Regions from separate parts of the Homo sapiens genome. Here region 1 is linked to region 2. The links are contacts of gene promoters, found by promoter capture Hi-C in blood cells and fetal thymus (Javierre and others, 2016). All regions are on one chromosome and are shown on one strand. The core of a region is centred on a gene start or on the middle of the fragment in contact, and the rest is flanking DNA. Distances in the headings are between cores, read along the strand shown.

Evidence for each region. Contacts are between HindIII fragments. The CHiCAGO score rates a contact against its expected background, and 5 or more counts as called.
Region 1: a contact is called between a fragment that was not itself captured here and the fragment with the promoter of UGGT1 in region 2, in 1 of 17 cell types (M1 macrophages). The highest score is 7.1, in M1 macrophages.

What each region holds. Positions count from the first base shown.
Region 1 is chr2:129,746,885-129,751,779 of GRCh38, reverse strand. No RefSeq gene overlaps it. Among named protein-coding and RNA genes, the nearest start is that of LINC02572, 130 kb to the left of the region's middle. RefSeq lists an enhancer at 3,448-4,060. The HindIII fragment of the contact is 889 bases long and covers 1,845-2,733 here.
Region 2 is chr2:128,088,846-128,093,346 of GRCh38, reverse strand. UGGT1 (UDP-glucose glycoprotein glucosyltransferase 1) reads right to left here and starts at 2,147. Exons shown (of 41, transcript NM_020120.4): 1 at 1,932-2,147. The coding sequence starts at 1,989. RefSeq lists an enhancer at 2,076-2,385. The HindIII fragment of the contact is 755 bases long and covers 1,625-2,379 here.

The DNA.
Region 1 (4,895 bases), core at 1,040-3,539, 1.7 Mb before region 2:
CCAGATAATGAGCATAATATCCAATAGGAAGGTTTTAAGCCTTTGCCCCCTTCCCCCTCTTCCTCCTTCCTTCATTTTTGAGTCCCCAGTGTCTACTGTTTCCATCTTAAGTTCATGTGAACCCAAGATTTAACTCCCACTTATAAGTGAGAACATGTGGTATTTGGTTTCTGTTCCTGTGTTAGTTCACTTAGGGTAATGACCTCCAGCTGCAACTATGTTGCTGCAAAGGACATGACTTTGTTCTTTTTCTACGGCAATGGTGTATTCCATGGCATTATGTACCACATTTTCTTTATCCAGTCCACCATTGATGGGTATCTGAGTTGATTCCACATCTTTGCTATTGTGAATAGTGCTGTGATGAACATATGGGTGCAAGTGTCTTTTTGGTATAACAATTTACTTTCCTTTGCGAATACATCCAGTAATGAGATAGCTGGGTTGAGTGACAATTCTATTTTCAGTTCATTGGAAATTTCCAAACTGCTTTCTGCCTAATTGCATTGCCACCAACAGTATATAAACATATAATTTTCTCTACAACCTCTCCAACAGTTATTATTTTTTGACTTTTTAATAATAGCCATTCTGACTGGTAAGAGGTGGTATCTCATTGTGGTTTTGATTTGCATCTCTCTGGTGATTAGTAATGTTGAACATTTTCTCATATGTTTGTTGGCTGCTTGTATGTCTTCTTTTGAGAAGTGTCTGTTCATGTCCTTTGCCCACTTTTTAATGGGGTTGTTTCTTTCTTGTTGATTCATTTAAGTTCCTTATAGATTCTGGAGATTAGTCCTTTGTCGAGTACATGATTTGCAAATATTTTATCCCATTCTGTAGGTTGTCTGTTTATTCTGTTGAGAGGTGTTTTTTTGTTTGTTTCTTTTTTTTTTCTTTTTCTGTGCAAAAGCTCTTCAGTTAAGTCTCATTTGTCTATTTTTGATTTTGGGGTCTTCATCATAAATTATTTGCCTAGGCCAATGTCTAGAAGAGTATTTTCTGGATTTTCTTCTGGATTTTTGTAGTTTGAGGTGTTACATTTAAGTATTTAATCTACTTGCATTAATTTTTATATATGTTGATAGGCTAGCCAGTTTTCCCAGGACCATTTATTAAATAGTGTGTCCTTTCCCCATTTTTTTTTTTTTTTTTTTTGTTGACTGTCAAAGATGAGTTGGTTATAGGTATGTGGCTCTATTTCAGGAGTCTCTGTTCTGTTCCATTCGTTTATGTGTTTGTTTTTGTATCAGTACCATGCTGTTTGGGTTACTGTAGCCTTGTAGTATGTTTGAAGTTGGATAATGTGATGCCTCTGGCTTTATTTTTTCTGCGTAAAATTTCTTTGGCTATTTGGGCCCTTCTTTTTCCTTTTTGACTGTTGTTGCTTTAAAACCTATTTTATCTGATACAAGAATAGTGACTTCTGCTCTTTTTGTTTTCCATTTACATGATAGATCTTTCTCCATGCCTTTACTTTGAGACTATGGGTGTCGTGACTTGTGAGATGGGTCTCTTGCATAGAGCAGAAGGATGAGTCTTGTTTTTAATTACCAATTTGCCACTCTGTGTCTTTTAAGTGGGGCATTTAGGCCATTTACATCCAAGGTTACTATTAATATGTGAGGTTTCATTCCTGTCCTAGTGTTGTTAGCAAGTTACTTTATAGGGTCTGTGGGCTATGTGCTTGTGTGTGCTTTCATGGTAGCAAGTATCGTTCGTTCCTTTATTACCATATTTAAAACTCCCTTAAGCATCTCTTGTTGGGCCAGTCTGGTGGTGACAATTTTCCTTACTGATTGTTTTTCTGGGAAAGAGTTTATTTCACCTTCGTTTATGAAGCTTAGTGAGGCAGGATACGAAATTCTTGGCTGGCATTTTCTTTCTTTCAGAACGCTAAAAATGGGCCCCCAATCTCTTCTGCCTTATGAGGTTTCTGCGAGAGTCAACTGTTAGTGTGATGGATTTCCCTTTATGGGTAATATGACACTTTTCTCTAGCTGCCTTGAAGATTTTTTCTTTTGCATTGACCTTGGCTAGTTTGATGACTATGCGCCTTGGTAATGGTCATCATGTACAATATCTCCAGGAGTTCTCTGGATTTCTTGTATCTGCATATTGACCTCTCTCACAAGTTTGGGAAAATTTTCCTGAATTTTATCCTCAAATCTATTTTCCAAGTTGCTCCTTCTTTTCTTAAGTCATTTATTTGGTGACTTTACAAAATCCCATGTTTCTTGAAGGTTTTGTTCATTTTTAACATTCTTTTTTCTTTATTTTTGTCTGACTGGGTTGATTCAGAGCCCCAGTCTTTGAGCTCTGAAATTCTTTCTTCTGCTTGGTCTAGTCTGTTGTTAAGTCTTCCAACTATGTTTTGAAATTCCTATAGTGAAATTTTCATTTCCAGAAGTTCTGTTTGGTTCTTTTCTAACGTAGTTATGCTGTCTTTCAAAACTTGGATAATTTGTTCTGTTTTCTTTGTGTTGGATTTCAGCTTTCTATTGGAGCTCATTGAGTTTCTTTGCCACCCACATTCTGAATTCTCTGTCATTTCAGACATTTCATTCTAGTTAGGATCCATTGCTTGGTAGCTGGTGTTGATCCTTCGGAGGTGATGAGACACTCTGGCTTTTTGTATTGCTAGAGTTCTTGTGTAGGTTCCTTATTATCTGAGAGAGCTGCTGCTGCTGCTTCTTTCTTTTATGTTGAATTTGCTATTCTTTGAATGAAGCTTCTTGATTTTTAAGCTCTTTTTTCTCTTAAAGGAATGACTGTGGTGTATACTGTGTATGAACCATTGGCTTTGTCTCTGGGCGCTTTCAGTGTGCCAACGCACTGTACGTGTTCCTTGATTGCATACAGGTTCAGGCTGTTGTCCAGTAGGTGGAGCTTAAGATTAAGAGTTGGCAGGTACGGGTGGGGACAGAGGCAATGGAGAAGGGTGAAATGCACGTTCAGTGAGGATGGAGCTGCTGGAGCAGTCCCAGAAGCAGTCTCTTTTAGCCCATCCTCCCTGAACCCAGACAGGAAGAGCTGCTGCTGAGTCAACAACAGTGCATTAAGGAGGGAGGGCAACAAGGAAAGACCCCTCTCTGAGTCTGTTTCAGGCCAACGGTAGTGTCATGCCTGCATTTCCTTTGACTCAAGGGAGGCTTTGGCGGGCTGTGCTGGGTCCATCACTCTCTTAGGGGCCAAGGCTTAGCTCTCTGGGTCTGGGTGTTTTCACTAGCAAAGAGCCTGTCTGAGTTCCTTGGTTACTGTGGCCTCTGTATGGTGGCTTCCCCAGATGCTGGTTGTAGTGGCATATGCTGGGCGTGTGGGCAGGCCTGTGCCTCTTGTGGGGGCAGGGAGGCAGCAGTCTCAGGAGCTCCTCTAGTTCCCCATTGCTCTGCGTTGGTGTTAGCAGATTTTCTATTGTGCTGCCCCATTTGGCCTCTAAGCCAACGAGTGGCTCGGTGGCTTGTATGGGTAGGAGCTGGCTGTGGCACAAGCACCAGCTCTGAGTGGGAGTCCAGTGGGCAGCCACCAGTGCCCAGAGATGTTCCTAGGCGTGGAGCTAGAAAACCTCTTTGGCCCCAAGTAGCTCTGCATGGGAACCTCAGGTGGCTGCCTAAATTCCTAATCCAGGAGAGGGTGGGTTCCAGATGCCTGGCGGCCTGCCTGGGCATGAAGCAGAGAGGGCTCTCCTGTACCAGGATCTCTGCTCAGGAAGGGTGGGGCAACTCAGGCTTCTCATCTGGGTGAGCAGGTGCTCTGAATGCCTGGGGATGGAAAAGAGCGGGTCCTGATGCACCACAATTCCAGAGGAGCAGGCTGGGACCCCGGCAATGACGTGCACAGACCAGTTATAGGTTGCCAACTAGGCGCTGGCCACAAGTCTCTGGGACGAGGAGAAACCACGCTGCAGCAGCTCTCCTCCCACCTCAGACCTGTGACAGGGAAGATCACAATTCCAGTGCCTACTGCTGGGGCACTTTCCACACTTGCCATGAATTCTGGCTGTGTAGGCCCCTAACTTGCTCCAGAGGAAGCACTCCAGTCTCTGGCCTGAGACCAAAATGCATGCATGGCCATGCTGCTGGGTTGCCAAAGAATGACTGACTCTGTATGAGCCTGGATTAAAAAGGCCATCCTGCTCTCAGTCCCAGGTCTGGGAAAATGCCTGCAGCTTTTCTAGGTGTCTTTCTTTCTCAGTGTCTCCAAGCCTGTCTCTGAGTCAGCTCCAGGACTTGGGAGAGAAAAAGTGCTCCCCTCTTTGTGGGTTGCTTGGATCCCTAGGGGATAGGGGAGGTGTTCTGCCCCTCGCAGGTCCTGGGGCTTCACTCACTTTTCTCAGTGGCTGGATGGATACTGTCACGGGGCTTTCTGCCTGCCTTCTCCTCCCTAGGATCTGGGGTGTCCTTCACTGTTTTGTGGATTCCTATTTTCCTTCTTGAGTTAAAACTCAGAGTTGGTCTTTATGCACTATTTTGCTATTTCCAAGTAGCCAGGGCAAGCTAAAAGCCTCTAATCTGCCATGTTAGGGAAAAAACTAGTTTCATGCATGTTATAAGAAATTATTTTCATCAAATTGATACATTCCATTTTATGCTACTAAGTTAAGTGAGACTTCCAATGAGAAGCAGCGCCCACTTCCCACCCATCCCAATCTCTGGCCCTGCTTGCTATGAACAATCAGTTTCATTTCTTGTGGTTCTTACCTCCATATATAATCTGCACACACTGGATAGTTAAAAACATATGTATTGTGGTAAAATCCCCATAATATAAAACAGTTAACCATTTGATATGGTTTGGCTCTGTGTCCCCACCCAAATCTCATCTTGAATTGTAACTCCCACAATTGCCATGTGTCGTGGGAGGAACCTGGTGGGAGGTAATTGAATCATGGGGGC
Region 2 (4,501 bases), core at 898-3,397:
GGCATGAATGGAAACAACAGGAAAGGAGTGTGGCACCAAGAGTGAAGATGCTATAAAATGCCTAGGACTGCAAGATAGGTAAAATGAAAATCCTATGAACCTGTGGCCTGCCTCGAGATCCCCCTACACTGTTTTCAAAAAGGAGAGAGAGTACGTGTTCTTGGGGAGAGATGCAGCACCATTTGAGATGAAAAAAGGAGGAAAGCTATACATTAAAAAAGAGCTTTGCCACTCTGACCCCACATTCTTAACTCTACAGGTAAAACCAGAGGAAAAGACTGTCCAGAGAAGCAGACGTAAGAATCTCACTGAAGTGGTCTCTGCTTTGAGTATGTCTTCATTTTATAGGATCCCTTATCATTCTGACCCTAGGGGTTCTTAAATGTTGCTTATAAAGACAAACAGTCTGAGATAATGGCCAACAGAATGTGCCATGTGGCTTTGCATGATAAGCATTATACTTGCGGCATGATGAATAAACAGAAAACACTCTTTAACAAGTTCTAGGCCCAACTATCAACAACCATCCGTAGGAGGCTGAGGTAGGAGGACCACCTGAGCCCAGGAGGTGGAGGCTGCAGCTAGCAAGATCATGTCACTATTCTCTAACCTGGGCAACAGAGCAAGACTCTGCCTCACCAACAAAAAATAAAAAAATAAATTAAAACACTATCTCTTGCACCATTGCACTCCAGCCTGGGTAACAAGAGTGAAACTCCATCTCAAAAAAAAAAAAAAAAAGAAAGAAAGAAAGAAAATTATCACATCATCTTGTATTGTTACAGGGAAACTTAGATAAAAAAAGAAAATGCTCACAGACAGCTGCAGGAAAGTTCTAAGCAAATTTTCTTCTTACTTTCATATATTCCCCTGAAGTTCAATGTGCATTATAAATGTGCTATGCTACTGTACAAAGTATTATGGTCACTTCCTTTAATAAGTTTCATGTGGCCAGGAGTTCAAGATCAGACTGGTAGGTAACAAGACCTCATCTCTACAAAATAAATAAATAAATAAATAAATAAGAATTTTTTTAAAATAAGCTTCAGCTAAGTTTATCAAAAGCAAGTCAAGTGTTGCTAAATTCGACTGGCTTAAAAAAAAAAAAAGCAAAGTGAAAAGGCTACAATTATTCCAAGTTTTGTGGTGCTGTTAAATAGCTATTTAAAATGTCTTCAAACGCCTGCAAGTGTAAGATTCTTGAAGGAAAGAGGGCACTTTACACTAAAATTGGCTGGCAAGTACATCAATGAATGTTTCCAAAACAGTTAGTGTAGCACAATAAGGCAAAAGACCCCAGGACTTCAAACGAACAAAATTGCTCCTTCTCAAATCTGGCAAGAAATGCAAAACAACTGCAGATTCTGGCCAAGGAACAAAAACAGTTCACATCTATAAGTTATTGGCGACGGACGCAGATCTCATTCTGGCAGGTCCCACGCTAAAAGTGAAACCATATCATCCAATTTCCAGCCAACAGATCACAGTGTTAAAAGAAAACAGTAACCAATACGCATCAACCCGAATTCATTTTAGGAAAAATTGAAATCTATTTTAAAAAGCACGTCGTTCTGCAATCAGGGTCCTGCAAAGTGCTGCTTCTCAACTCACTGAGGATCAAGCTTGGTCTAAATCCATGGTAGGATACCTCCCCCATTTCCTTCTGCACTTGGCACAAGGATCTAAAGCTCTTCAAAGAAGGTTCAAGACCGCTGAACAGAGCCCGCCGCCACCCCCGCGGAAGCGATACCTTGCCAAGAAGACCACTGAGGGCAACTCGGGGCGCTCGCGAATAGGGGAAGGGATAGGACACCAGAGGGTAAACTGAGTCACGGTAGAGGCGGAAGCTCAATGTGACAGGGGCACAGGGTCGCCTTGTGCCCCAAACCCTCTCTTTGTCCACGAGGCCTCCTCACGCCACCCCTGGGTACCTGTCACCGGCAGCGCACCCGCGGCACACGCACCGCTCGCGTCTCCCTTGCAGCCCATGCCCGGGCCGTGGTCAGTCCGCCACAGTGCCAGAGACAACGCCAGGGCAGGGCGGGGCGAGGCGGCAGCGGCAGTGCAGGCTGCGCCAGTGAGAGGCCGACACGCGCCTTTCCCGCGGCTCGACTCAACACCCAGCCTCGCAAAGCAATTGCCCAGCTGCCGGCCGCCCTTTTACTTCCGCTTCCTGCAGGCGAACGCTGGAGGACTTCCGGATACCGAGTCGAGACCTAGCAGCCCAGAGCGTCGCGCGGTCGCCCTCTCATCTCCGAGGGTTGGGGAGGGGGGAGTCCTGCCTCTCTCCTCACTTCCGCCTTTCAGGGTGGCGGGTAGGCTGCCGGTCTTCAAGGTCTTGGGAAGGTTCGTTGGGCCAACAGCTGAGACCCGAAAGCTTCAACAGTCAGTCGGTGAAATCCAGTTTGGACTCTGGGACTTACTCCCTTAAACCTTTGTTAAAAGCTTACTCCCTTTAGCCTTTCGGTGGCACAGTAAGGACAATTGTCTTAATGTTTCTGAGCATCTTAGACTTTATACTAAACCCTAAAATTTTGATAGCTACCTTCCAGGAGGCATGATGAAAGGAAGACTTTTTAAATTTTATGAGCCGCTTGAGCTTTCTTATTCGGACAGCGGCAGCTTAGTCTACAGGGACTACTTTGTCCTTTTAGTATTTTTTTTTTAACTAATATAAACCAGTTTAAAATTGTTTTGGAATAGGTAGCATTTAACCCACCCAAAAATGAATACCTCTTTGGAGGGTATATTTTTAAGTATATTAAGTCAAAGTGAATGAAAAGCCAAAAATATTTTTTTGGAGTTGGAGTCTCGCTCTGTCTCCCAGGCTGGAATGCAGTGGCGCGATCTCGGCTCACTGCAACCTCCGCGCCCCCGCCCGCGCCCCCCACCCCCCAACCCCCCGACCCGCATTCAAGCGATTCTCCCACCTCAGCCTCCCCAGTAGCTGGGATTACAGGCGTGCGCCACCGCGCCTGGCTAATTTTTGTATTTTTAGTAGAGACAGGGTTTCACCCTGTTGGCCAGGCTGGTCTCGAACTGCTGACCTCAGATGATCCACCCGCCTCGGCCTCCCAAGTGCTGGGATTACAGGCGTGACCCACTGCGCCCGGCCCAAAATAATTTTAATAAATAAACATGAGCCAACATGATGAAGGGGAGGAAGGAGAGGAGGATGAAGGAGATGACTAATGGAACACTGATGGAGGCCGGGCGCGGTGGCTCACGCTGAGGATGGAGGCTGAGGCAGGAGAATGGCGTGAACCCGGGAGGCGGAGGTTGCTTGCAGTGAGCAGAGATCGCATCACTGCACTCCAGCCTGGGCGAGAGAGGGAGACTCCATCTCAAAAAAAAAAAAAACAGCAACAACAACAGCAAAAAAACACTGATGGATTCCAACCTTCCTTTTTTTACATTTTCTCCAGTCCCTGGGAGCAAGTTGCAGTTTTTTTGTTTTTTTGTTTTTTGTTTTTTCTCTCTTGTGCTCAGTCGCCCTGTTCTTGAGGTTTCTTTTCTCTACACTATAGTTCTCAACTTATTTTGGGGGAAATAACTTCAGCAGAATACAATGGGAAAAGAGTCTCTACCCCTTTCTGTTCGAAATTCATTTTTATCCCTTCCTGTCTGAGCAAAAACTGTATAGAATCAACATCACCCCAGCTCTGTGGGAAAAAAGAAAAACCTGCTCCCTTCGCCCTGCTGGAAGCTGGAGGGCTCTAGGCCCATGTGTAGCAGAGCATTCAATTCTAGCTTTCTTCCTGCTTTCTCTGTATATTGGGCTCGGAGAGTACACTGGGTCTCTATGTGAATATGGACAGTTAGCATTTACCAACATCTTTCTGTCTACTTTCTCTTGTTTAAAAAAAGAAAAAAACTTTAAAAAATGGGATTCTAGAAGTCAGCAAAGGGTGGGTCTGAGATGTTTGGGTGGGTTAAGCGGACATTTTGACAACATGGCTTCTCCTTTGGCATGTTTAATTGCGATGTTTGACACACATCCTTGCAGTTTAAGATGACGCTTTTAAAATAAATTCTCTCCTAATGATGACTTGAGCCCTGCCACTCAGTGGGAGAATCAGCAGAACCTCTAGGATCTTATTTGGAATTGACATTCTCTATTGTAATTTTGTTCCTGTTTATTTTTAAATTTTGTTTCACTGGAAAGGAAAGATCATGCTCAGTTTTAAATGTTAAAAGTGTACAAGTTGCTTTGTTACAATAAAACTAAATGTGTACACACACCTACGAAAAGAAAAAAACATGAGCATTTTAAAATTTATTTCACAAGGGAGCTGTTGTGTTAGCTTTCCATAGTGTATTTTCTAGCCCTCTTTAAATCACATCAGCTAATGCTTCAATAAAAAGGAAATTGTTAATTCACCTCATTACAAAGTTGATTATATACTTTTTCTTGGCCTTATCTTGATCTTCTGCTATGTGATCCATGAACAAAACCAAAGTTTGCTTAGTTTTAAAATACAGCTAAGTGGTAGCACAGAGC